Linked DNA regions of Homo sapiens: regions 1 and 2 are each linked to region 3. The links are contacts of gene promoters, found by promoter capture Hi-C in blood cells and fetal thymus (Javierre and others, 2016). All regions are on one chromosome and are shown on one strand. The core of a region is centred on a gene start or on the middle of the fragment in contact, and the rest is flanking DNA. Distances in the headings are between cores, read along the strand shown. Region 1 holds the start of KCNQ2 (potassium voltage-gated channel subfamily Q member 2). Region 2 holds the start of EEF1A2 (eukaryotic translation elongation factor 1 alpha 2). Region 3 holds the start of ABHD16B (abhydrolase domain containing 16B).

The links. Contacts are between HindIII fragments. The CHiCAGO score rates a contact against its expected background, and 5 or more counts as called.
Region 1: the fragment with the promoter of KCNQ2 here is called in contact with the fragment with the promoter of ABHD16B in region 3 in 1 of 17 cell types (activated CD4 T cells); the score reaches 5.7 in activated CD4 T cells.
Region 2: the fragment with the promoter of EEF1A2 here is called in contact with the fragment with the promoter of ABHD16B in region 3 in 3 of 17 cell types (total B cells, naive B cells and erythroblasts); the score reaches 7.3 in total B cells.

Annotation. Positions count from the first base shown.
Region 1 is chr20:63,470,996-63,474,391 of GRCh38, forward strand. It overlaps KCNQ2 (potassium voltage-gated channel subfamily Q member 2), which reads right to left and starts at 1,660. Exons shown (of 17, transcript NM_172107.4): 1 at 1,173-1,660. The coding sequence starts at 1,468. The HindIII fragment of the contact is 3,283 bases long and covers 1-3,195 here.
Region 2 is chr20:63,496,930-63,500,335 of GRCh38, forward strand. It overlaps EEF1A2 (eukaryotic translation elongation factor 1 alpha 2), which reads right to left and starts at 2,154. Exons shown (of 8, transcript NM_001958.5): 1 at 2,129-2,154; 2 at 691-905. The coding sequence starts at 834. LOC124904955 (a long non-coding RNA gene) reads left to right here and starts at 1,353. Exons shown (of 2, transcript XR_007067719.1): 1 at 1,353-1,694. RefSeq lists enhancers at 368-537, 1,163-1,958, 2,219-2,788. The HindIII fragment of the contact is 27,651 bases long and covers 1-3,406 here.
Region 3 is chr20:63,859,662-63,862,824 of GRCh38, forward strand. It overlaps ABHD16B (abhydrolase domain containing 16B), which reads left to right and starts at 1,837. Exons shown (of 1, transcript NM_080622.4): 1 at 1,837-3,163. The coding sequence starts at 1,880. ABHD16B-AS1 (ABHD16B antisense RNA 1) reads right to left here. Exons shown (of 2, transcript NR_165314.1): 2 at 1,554-3,163. The HindIII fragment of the contact is 10,144 bases long and covers 1-3,163 here.

The DNA of each region.
Region 1 (3,396 bases), core at 410-2,909, 390 kb before region 3:
GATCTTCTCCCTACCCCAGAACCCTCTCATATCACAGTCCACGGAGGGTCTGCTAAGGGCACACTCAAGGCCACACGCAGGCTGGGGCACACTCGTGGGGCACACACCCCTCTCGGCCCAGGTGGGCGCCCGACCAGCTTGTGACCAGTCTGCCCCTCACTCCCATCCCAAAATGCCTCTCACACAAAATGGCCGGTCCCGGAGCTCAGCGGGTCCCTTGTTCAGCTGGGATGGGAGAGCAAGCGCCCTGGCGCGGGGAGGCTGTGCACACCGGCCGCACAGGCCGCACACGCAGCGGGCCGTGCAATTCCACATGCGAACACCCAGGTGCACACGGACGCAGGCTTCGGCCGCCCCCCGCCAGCCCTGCCCCAGGAGGCAGCCGTTCCCTGAGCCTCGCCCGGGAAGAGGGGACAGCCCCTTCCAGGCCCAGGGCTGGGGGTCCCAGGTCTGCCGCAGCCCCTCCCCCGGGCCTCGCTCTGCCAAGGAGGGGTCCTGAGCCCGGGATGTGCACGGGGGCGGCCGGCGGCTGCAGAGATGGGACAGCGCAGGAGCTGAGCGCAGGAGCTGAGGGGGTTCGCGGGGCCAGGGAGGGGCGTCGGCGCCGAGGGGGCAGGACAGACAGCTGCGCTCAGCCCGGGCTGGGGTGGGGGGGTCATGGGAGGGCCCCTCCCCCATCTCAGGAACCCAGAAGCTCACCCTAGTCTGAGGGAGAGCGGCTCGGGAGGATGGCGGAGGACAGGCCAGACCCCTCCCCCCCGCCCTCGCTTGGTCGGGCGGCCCCAGCCCCGCGGGTCCCCGAGAGTCCCGGAGAGTCCAGACCCAGCGCTGCCGCCGTCCCTCCCCGGCCGGCCCTTTGTTCGGCGCAGAGGCCGCGGGGAGGGGCCTCCCAGGCTGAGGAGGGGGCTGGGGCGGCCGCACGTCTCTGTCCTGCGGGCCTGGAGCCCCCACCCCGACCTGAGCGGCCCCGACCCCGGAATCCTTCCTGCCCGCGCGCTGTACAATCGCTCTCCGGTCTCGGCCCAGCACTCCCGCCGGGGAGCGCCGGCCCCGGACCCAGACCCAGGGGCAGGGAGCCAAACCCGCCGCAGCCAGCCTGGCCGGGGTCGCCGATGGGGTCGCCGATGGGGGTCGCCATGGGGGTCGCCACGGGGGCCCCGCCGGCCACTCACACGTAGGCGTGGTAGATGAACGCCCAGCCGCGCGGCCGCTCCAGCACGTTGTAGAGGAAATTCTGCAGCTTGCGGTAGAAGGCGTTGCGCTTGGGGGGCTTCCCGGCGCCCGCGCCGCCCGCGCGAGGTTTGCTGAGGATGCTGCCGCGCTTGGGGGCCTCGGAGCCGGCGATCAGCAGCGCCCCGTCCCGGGTGGAGTCGGGCGCGCCGGGGTCCAGCCCCACGAAGCCCACCTTCAGCTTCTTCTCCCCGCTCGGGCCGGGGTATACGCCGCCGTTGCGCGACTTCTGCACCATGGTGCCTGGCGGGAGGCGCCCCGGGTCGGGCTCAGGCTCAGCGGGGGCGGAGCGCGGGGGGCGGCGCGGGCCCCAGCCCAGGCCCCCCGGCCGGGAGCCGCATGGCCGAGGCGGCGGTTCCGCACTCCTGCCGGGCTTGGGCCGCGCGCGGAGACGCTGCGGCCACCTCGCTCCGCGCGCACCTCGGCGCCTGGCCCGCGGCCGCGCCGGCTCCGCCCGCCGCCTCGCCCCGCCCCGCGTTAACCCCCGCGACGCCAGTCGAAGGAGAGGGGAGGAGAAGAGAGGGAGGGGAAGGGAGGGGAGAGGGAGGGACGGGGAGGGGAGGGGAGGGGGGAAGGAGAGGAGAGGGGAGGAGAGAAGAGGGAAAGGGAGGGGAGGGGAGGGAGAGGGGACGGGGAGAGGGGAGACAGGAGGGGAGGGGGAGGGGAGGAGAGGGGAATGGGAGGGGAGGAGAGTGGCGGGGACGGGGAGAGGGGAGACAGGAGTGGAGGGGGGAGACAGGAGTGGAGGGGGAGGGGAGGGGGGAGAGGAGGGGGAGTGGGGGAGGGGGAGGGGAGGGCAGGGGGAGAGGAGGGGGAGGCAGAAGGGACCAAGGCCCGCGGGACCAGAGCTCTGGGCTGAGCCTGCCCAATCCCCCGGCCATGTGCACACTGACCCTGCGGTCACCTTTGAGTCCGGTAGTACTAACCAAGTGGACCTGCCTGGTGGCCCCAGCGCTCCTGGGGTCCCAGAGCGGTGCCCAGCCGCCTGAGCAGGACTGGAGTCTTCTCAGCTGGGCCCTGGGAGTGGACGCCTCCGGGAAGGGATGGGGGTAGGGGCTCTCCCCAAGACTCTGTTAGGGCTCAGCCCATGGTGACCTCATGCTCTCGGTGTCAGGGTTGCCCAGGCAGTAGGACCCCCTAGACCCCAGGGTGTGTGCAGGGAGGGTCTGTGGAGGCTGGAGGCACCCTGCAAGGAAAGCAGCCCAGGGGAAAGGGGGTGGCCACAGAGGCCGGGAGGCAAGAAGAGGAGCAAGGGCCATGGGGTGGGGGATGGGAGAGAGTCACTCCTAGAGGGCCTTGAAGCCCCCCAAGGGGCCTGGACTTAGTTATGCAGACCCCAGAAGGGGCCTGTGGCAGGGGCAGGGACTGGAGGGTGGCCCCAGGGCAGCAGACAGGCCAGCAGGAAGCCCAGTGCCACACCTCGGGACAAAGGAGGCAGATCTGTGCCTCCTGGACACAGATGGGACGGTGTTTCCTTGGGGGCAAGTGCGCGGAGGTGGCCTCCCCCCTGCCGGCAGCCATGTGTCCTGGGAGGGGTCCCTCTGGAGCTGCTGCTGGGAGACCAAGGGACCCCTGCGGCTCAGTGCTGCCCGCCCTGTGAGGTGCCCCGCCACTGGGCCTTCCTCTGCACATCCAGGAGGGGTGTCATCTTCGAGTGCGTCTCTGACTACATCCAGCCTGTTTGCACGTTCGCCTGGCACCATGGGTTCTACCCAGAGAAAGGCCCTCTGCTGAATCGCTGGCGCCGTCCTCGCAGGTGACCTGCTCATAAAACAGCCCTAACCCTGGTGCAGAGTGAGCTCTTGAGTTGTGTTTGCCCTTTGGTTTCCAGAGCTAGTGGCCACGGGGCCTGTTTTTGTTGTTGTTGTTTTGTTTTTAACTAGGCTGAATACAGAAGGGTCGGTGCAGGCAGAATGCTAACCTGTACGTTATCCAGGACGTTGGGGATAGACGGCAACTTACACAAGCTTGTGCACATCCAGGGGTACTTTCTGGATCCCCGCCTCCCTGCCTCTGTGCCCACGCATTGGCTGTGATTACCAGCATGAAGTGGGCTTGCCCCAAGCGGCTGCGGTTTCTCTCGATTGTTAAGGGAGGAGGCACCAGCCTGGTGCTTTCAGGGGAGGGAGAGGACTTCAGTATGCAGAAGGAAGAGAGCACCGTGGC
Region 2 (3,406 bases), core at 904-3,403, 360 kb before region 3:
CCCTGGCCTCCGCCCTCATCATCCAGGTGAGAGCTCCCACAGGCCCTCCCAGGAGTGGGCTTCTCCCCAGAGTCCTGGGTGGGGGATGGGGATCAGAGAGCAGACCCCGTCTCATGACCGCTCCCCACCACCGTCTCAGCCACCAAAGAGAAATCGCTTCAAAAGGTCAGCTAGGAGGTCACCTCATCCAGGACCCCCACCCCAGGGCTGCCCTGGACAGCAGCCCTCCACAGCCCAGCACAAGAAAATGGAGCAGACGGGCCGGCTGCCCATCAATCAGCTATTAATAGTAGCGTGTGCCCTGGCAGGGCCCTAGGACAAGTGAGGGCAGTACCATCTCCAGCCCCAGCCTTGGCCCTGGGGGGAAGGGGGTAAGGCTCCAGCGCCCTCCAGCCCCAGCTCAACATGGCAGAGTTCCAGAGCCTTCTGCAGACCCTCCCAGGTCACCTCCCTCACCACAGGGCAAGTCCGGCAGCTCGATGGCCACCCCTCCCCCACCAAGCTCCCCCTAAGAGAGAGGCTGCCCCACCAGACCCTCTGAGGCCTGAGTGCCCCACAGCGGGGGTCCCTCCTGCCCTGGAGGAGGTCACCTGAGCCCCATGCCCTGGGGCTGGGAGATGCCAAGCCTGGCCACCACGGGAGTTGGGGGTTCCTTCTCAGGGGGCCAAGACCATAGCCTGGGGAGCTCACCTCAGCCGCCTCCTTCTCGAACTTCTCAATGGTCCTTTTGTCAATACCTCCGCATTTGTAGATGAGGTGGCCCGTGGTGGTGGACTTTCCGGAGTCCACGTGGCCGATGACCACGATGTTGATGTGGGTCTTCTCCTTGCCCATTTTGCTGGGAGTGTGAGGGGCTGGCGGGACCCGGGGTGCTCTGGCTCAGGGCGAGGGGGGCTGCAGTGATTCTGTGGGGCCAGTGGTGGTGGGGAGACCGGTGATGGGGAGCCCCAGGGGGAGACACCAGCAGAGACTGTCCTGGCACAGGCTGGACAGGCATCCCTGCCCACAAACCAAGCCCCCATGTTTGGTGGGGAGGGAAGGGCCCCCACCCACAGCTGGGCCTGGCCAGGGCAAGCAGAGGCTGTGCACTGCCCCCACCCCACACTTGAGCCCAAACAGCCCCATCTGCTGTAAATAACTGGGCGTTGGAGCCCGCGGGCTGCTCCTTGGGAAGGGGTTAGCCACCATTTGGAGAGACCACGCAGCGCCAGGCTGGGTACGTCCGTGACCAGCAGAGCCGGGTGATGAGTCACCTGCCCAGCGCTCCAGGGCCCTGTCCTGCACGCGCACTCCCCTCCCCGGCGGCAGGGCCAGGGACACGGCGCCCCACCCCCACCCGCTGCCACCGGGGAGAGATGGCCACTGCTCCCCACTCCCCTCCTCAGGCAGGGACGGCGCCATCTTCCCCTCATCCCTGCCCGGCAGGCTGGGCCAGAGCCCCGACGGAGATGCGCTGCCCAGATTAGGAACCCAGAATAGCTCTAGGCACCCCCCTCCCGGACTCTCACAGGGACAGACAGCGGCCGGGAGGTGGGGGTCCCTGTTCCAGCCTGAGGAAGGAGGACCCGGCCCTGCCGAGCCCAGCAAGTGCCAGGTGGAGATGCCCTCGGCCCCGTGGGGGTATAGGGGGCACCCTCCCTCCCCCCCTCCCTGTGACTCAGGACCCTGGGTCACAGCCCTGTCCCATCACAGAGGTCAGTGGAGAAACCCACGCTGCTCCTCGCGGACAGGTGGCTGGGGGAGGGAAAGAGGACAGAAGCCACCCTGGGGTGGGAACACGGGTGGGGGTGGGGAGGCCAGGGCCCCCAGATCTCACCACCTCCCTCAGCGTCCTCTGGCCCAGCGCCCCGAAGCCCGACCCCCATCAGCCCCCGGCCCGCAGGGTCCCCGCGGCCCCAAGGTCACGGCTACGGGGCGATCGCCGCCCAGGACCCGGCCCCGCCGCCCCGCGCCGCCCCCCACCCCGGGCCCAGCCCGGCCGACGCGGGGACCCCCGGAAGCCGGACTCCGGGCGCGCGCGGGGGCGGGTGCGGGGCCCGGCCACCCTCTGCCCCCCAGGACCGGCCCCGGGGGTCCCTCTTCGGAAGACGGGGGCGGGGGCGGAGGCCCGGGGGCCGAGCGTCCTTACCCGGAGCCGAGGTCTCAGCCAGAGGGACTGGCGGCGCCGGCGCCGGCGGTTTTATCTCCGGGAGGGGGTCCACCTATTGACGGTGGCGGCGCAGTGCACCGCGCCCTGCAGCACGCCAATGCGGAACCGCGCGGGAGGGGGCGGGGCGCGGACGCGCGCGGGCGGGCGCCACGGGGACGCGAGGCGATGCGGGAGGCGCGGGCTGCAAAGACGGACGCGGGAGGCGGGGGAGAAACGCGCCGCGGGCGGGGGCGGGGCGGGGGGCAGGGCAGGGAGGCGGCGGGAGGGAGGGACCGGGACGGAGACGGCGCGGGGAGAGCGCGGCGGGCCCGGGAGACGGGGCGAGAGCCGGCTCAGGGCAGGAACACGCTTGAGCCGCGAAAAGCGGTCCCCGGGGACAGGGCAGACGCCGAGGACCGGAGCCGGCAGGCGGGGGAGGGGAGCAGGTGGGCTGCAGCCTGGGAGACGAGCCTGGGTCTACCGGCCCCTCCCCGGCCCTGCTCATGGGGGACGCCCCAGAACCAACGAAGCCCGGCTCTGAGGGGCTCTCCCTAATGAGGCCCGGGGGTGCAGGCCTCAGGGTGGAAATCTGCTGGTTTCCAGTCCCTGTCCTCACGTGCCTGCCCTCCTGGGCGCACCATGACAGGCCCCGAGGATCCAGCGCAGAACCACCCTCCCCCTGAGAGGCTGGTCTCCCACGGTGCAGGGAACGCCGGAAGCCCGCTCCCAGACCCACTGACATCTTCCAGGGACCCTCCCCTCCGGGTGCGCCGACCTCCGGCTGCTGCTGGGAAACAGCGCCAGCCAAGGGCGAGTCAGATCCAGACAGACCCAGGCCCCCCCGCCCAGCGCCCCACCCCGCTGCACCTCAGCGCCTTGTAGCTGATGCTCATATGGGGTCAGGATGCCAAGCCAAAGACCGGGCCACGCTCTGTAGGAAGTGGGGAGTCCCTGAGGTCCTGGCACACGCGGGTAATGACCAACGTGGGTTGTGAGGAAGGGGATGTGGCAGCCATGTGTTGTGTGAAGACCAAGGTTAGGGGCTTTCTCCAGACCCCAAGATCCTGTCGTCTCACCCAGGTATTCAGGTCTTCCCTCCCACGCTGCCCCCCCACCCCCACGCACTCGGATCTTCCTGCCAGCGGGGTCTCGGGAGGTGTGTGCTGAGTGGGGGCAGAGCCCTGGCACCTGTCCTCTCAGCCCTGAGTTCCCACTGGGTGTTGACATGGAGGCCCCGGGTCGGGCCCAGCAGCTGCGACTGGGCAAATCCATGGGGAT
Region 3 (3,163 bases), core at 587-3,086:
TGACCAATGAGCACAGTAGCCAATCGGAGATCAAAGCTGGATAACCAGGAAAATCTGGATCTCAACTGTGTGTGTGCCTGGGGGTAGGACTGCCAGATTTAGCAAAACAAAAACAAATTTAAAAACAGGGTATATCTAGACCGGGTGCGGTGGCTCCTGCCTGTAATCCCAGCACTTTGGGAGGCCAAAGCGGGTGATCCACCTGAGGTCAGGAGTTAGAGGCCAGCCTGACCAACGTGGTGAAACCCCATCTCTACTAAAAGTACAAAAAGTTAGCCGGGCATGGTGGCGGGCACCTGTAATCCCAGCTACTTGGGAGGCTGAGGCAGGAGAATTGCTTGAACACCCAGGAGGCAGAGGTTGCAGTGAGCTGAGATTGCACCATTGCACTCCAGCCTGGGCGACAAGAGTGAGACTCCGTCTCAAAAACAAACAAACAAACAAACAGAAAAAACAGGATATCCAGTTAAATTTGAATTTCAGATAAACAATTTTAAAATAATGTCTCAAGCAGAAGTTGGAACATACTTATACCCAAAAAGTATTTGTTTATTTGTAATTCCAATTTAACTGGCATATTATTCTGTATTTTATCTGGCAACCTAGAATGGGGGTAATAGCCCCCCAAATCGCTCCCTTTGTTAATTGGTCCCTGTCTTCTGTCCCCCAACCCCTAAAGGCAGCAGCTGACTCCCCCAACTAGGGGCGGGGCCTGTTAGGGTCAGGCAGTGCCTCTAACCCAGACGCTGAGCAGGAGAGCAGAGAGGGGGTGCTTCAGCCTGAAACTACCCCTTCCCCAGAAGGCTGGGGTCCCAGGCGGGCCTGGCACCTGGGCTCAGAGGCTCTGGCTGGATTTGCCAAACTCCCTGATTGTAGCATGTTTGTTTCTGGTCTGGGGAGCTGTTGAGTACCTGGAGCTGCCCTCTTCCCTGGGGCTCCTCCTGGCAGGCGGCTTCCGACCCTGCCCTCAGGTGGGCTGGCCCTTTCCAGGGCAGGAGAAAAGATACCTCTCCAGAAAAGAGGGAGGCGCAGCCTGGGAGTGGGGGCTCGACCCAGGAGCGAGAAAGAGGAACCCCAGCCAGGCAGGACCCGCCCCAGAAGGTCACTGCTGTTGCTGGCAGCCAGTGAAAAGAGGATCCAGAAAAGGAGAGGGCTTGTTTCTGGTCAGCACCGAAGAAGGAAGGTGTGGAGAGGAGGGGCCGGGCCGAGAGCAAATACCGCCTTTTTGGTGCAGCAGCAGCCCTGTCTCTGACCCCGGCCGTCCTGGGGAGATGAGGTTTAAACCAGCAGACCCTGAAGGGAAACTTGCAGGACCCACAGCAAGCCTGGTACAGGCGGAGGAGGCCTTGCTGTCCCTTTTTGGCCCGTGGGGCTGTCCATCTTAAATTTAAGGAAGAGGGAGGCGGGGTGCAGGGACTCACACCTGTAATCCCAACACTGTGGGAGGTGGAGGCGGGGTGCAGGGACTCACACCTGTAATCCCAACACTGTGGGAGGTGGAGGCGGGAGGATCGCTTGAGCCCAGGGGTTCAAGACCAGCCTAGGCAGCATAGTGAGACCCCATCTCAATTTAATAAATAAATAAGGAAGAAAGAGGGAGACAGTAGCTGCTCAAATCATGGGTGGGAAAGCTGGGCCTGGGAGCGTTTAGCTGGTGGGGTCTTGGCGAAGGCGGGGGACGGGCAGAACCTTGGGTTCATCATCTCTGGGAACCCTTTGTGCACCCATCACCTAGCAACAGGATGCAGCCTTCCCTCCGCCCTGGAAGGCCAGGTCACAAAGGCCATCAGGGCTTGTCCGGGAGCCGGTATCCCCTAAGACTGCCCTGTGCCTCTCGCGGCGATCCCGGCCCAGCGGCTGGGCGTTAGGGCCACCGCTCATGTGCGTCATCTGCTTCGTGAAGGCGCTGGTGCGCGTGTTCAAGATCTACCTGACCGCCAGCTACACCTACCCATTCCGCGGCTGGCCCGTGGCCTTCCGCTGGGATGACGTGCGCGCCGTGGGCCGGAGCAGCAGCCACCGGGCGCTGACCTGCGCGGCAGCCGCGGCGGGCGTGTGGTTGCTGCGGGACGAGACGCTGGGCGGGGATGCGCTGGGGCGGCCTCCACGTGGGGCGCGCAGCCAGGCGCAGTGCCTCTTGCAGCAGCTCCGCGAGCTGCCCGGCCAGCTCGCTAGCTACGCGCTGGCCCACTCGCTGGGCCGCTGGCTCGTGTACCCCGGCTCCGTGTCCCTGATGACGCGCGCGCTGCTGCCGCTGCTGCAGCAGGGCCAAGAGCGCCTCGTGGAGCGCTACCACGGCCGGCGCGCCAAGCTGGTGGCCTGTGACGGCAACGAGATCGACACTATGTTCATGGACCGCCGCCAGCACCCGGGCAGCCACGTGCACGGGCCGCGCCTCGTCATCTGCTGCGAAGGCAACGCGGGCTTCTACGAGATGGGCTGTCTGTCTGCACCGCTCGAGGCCGGCTACTCCGTGCTGGGCTGGAACCACCCCGGCTTCGGCAGCAGCACTGGCGTGCCCTTCCCTCAGCACGACGCCAACGCCATGGACGTGGTGGTCGAGTACGCACTGCACCGCCTGCACTTCCCGCCCGCGCACCTGGTGGTCTACGGCTGGTCTGTTGGCGGCTTCACGGCCACCTGGGCCACCATGACCTACCCGGAGCTGGGTGCACTGGTGCTGGACGCCACCTTCGACGACCTTGTGCCGCTGGCGCTGAAGGTCATGCCCCACAGTTGGAAGGGGCTGGTGGTGCGCACCGTGCGCGAGCACTTCAACCTCAACGTGGCCGAGCAGCTGTGCTGCTACCCGGGGCCGGTGCTGCTGCTCCGACGCACGCAGGATGACGTGGTCAGCACTTCGGGCCGCCTGCGCCCCCTGTCACCTGGTGACGTGGAGGGCAACCGGGGCAATGAGCTGCTGCTGCGCCTGCTGGAGCACCGCTACCCCGTCGTGATGGCGCGAGAGGGCCGCGCCGTCGTCACCCGCTGGCTGCGCGCTGGCAGCTTGGCGCAGGAGGCCGCCTTCTATGCACGCTACCGCGTGGACGAGGACTGGTGCCTGGCGCTGCTGCGCTCCTACCGTGCACGCTGCGAAGAGGAGCTGGAGGGCGAGGAGGCCCTGGGGCCACACGGACCCGCCTTCCCATGGCTGGTGGGCCAG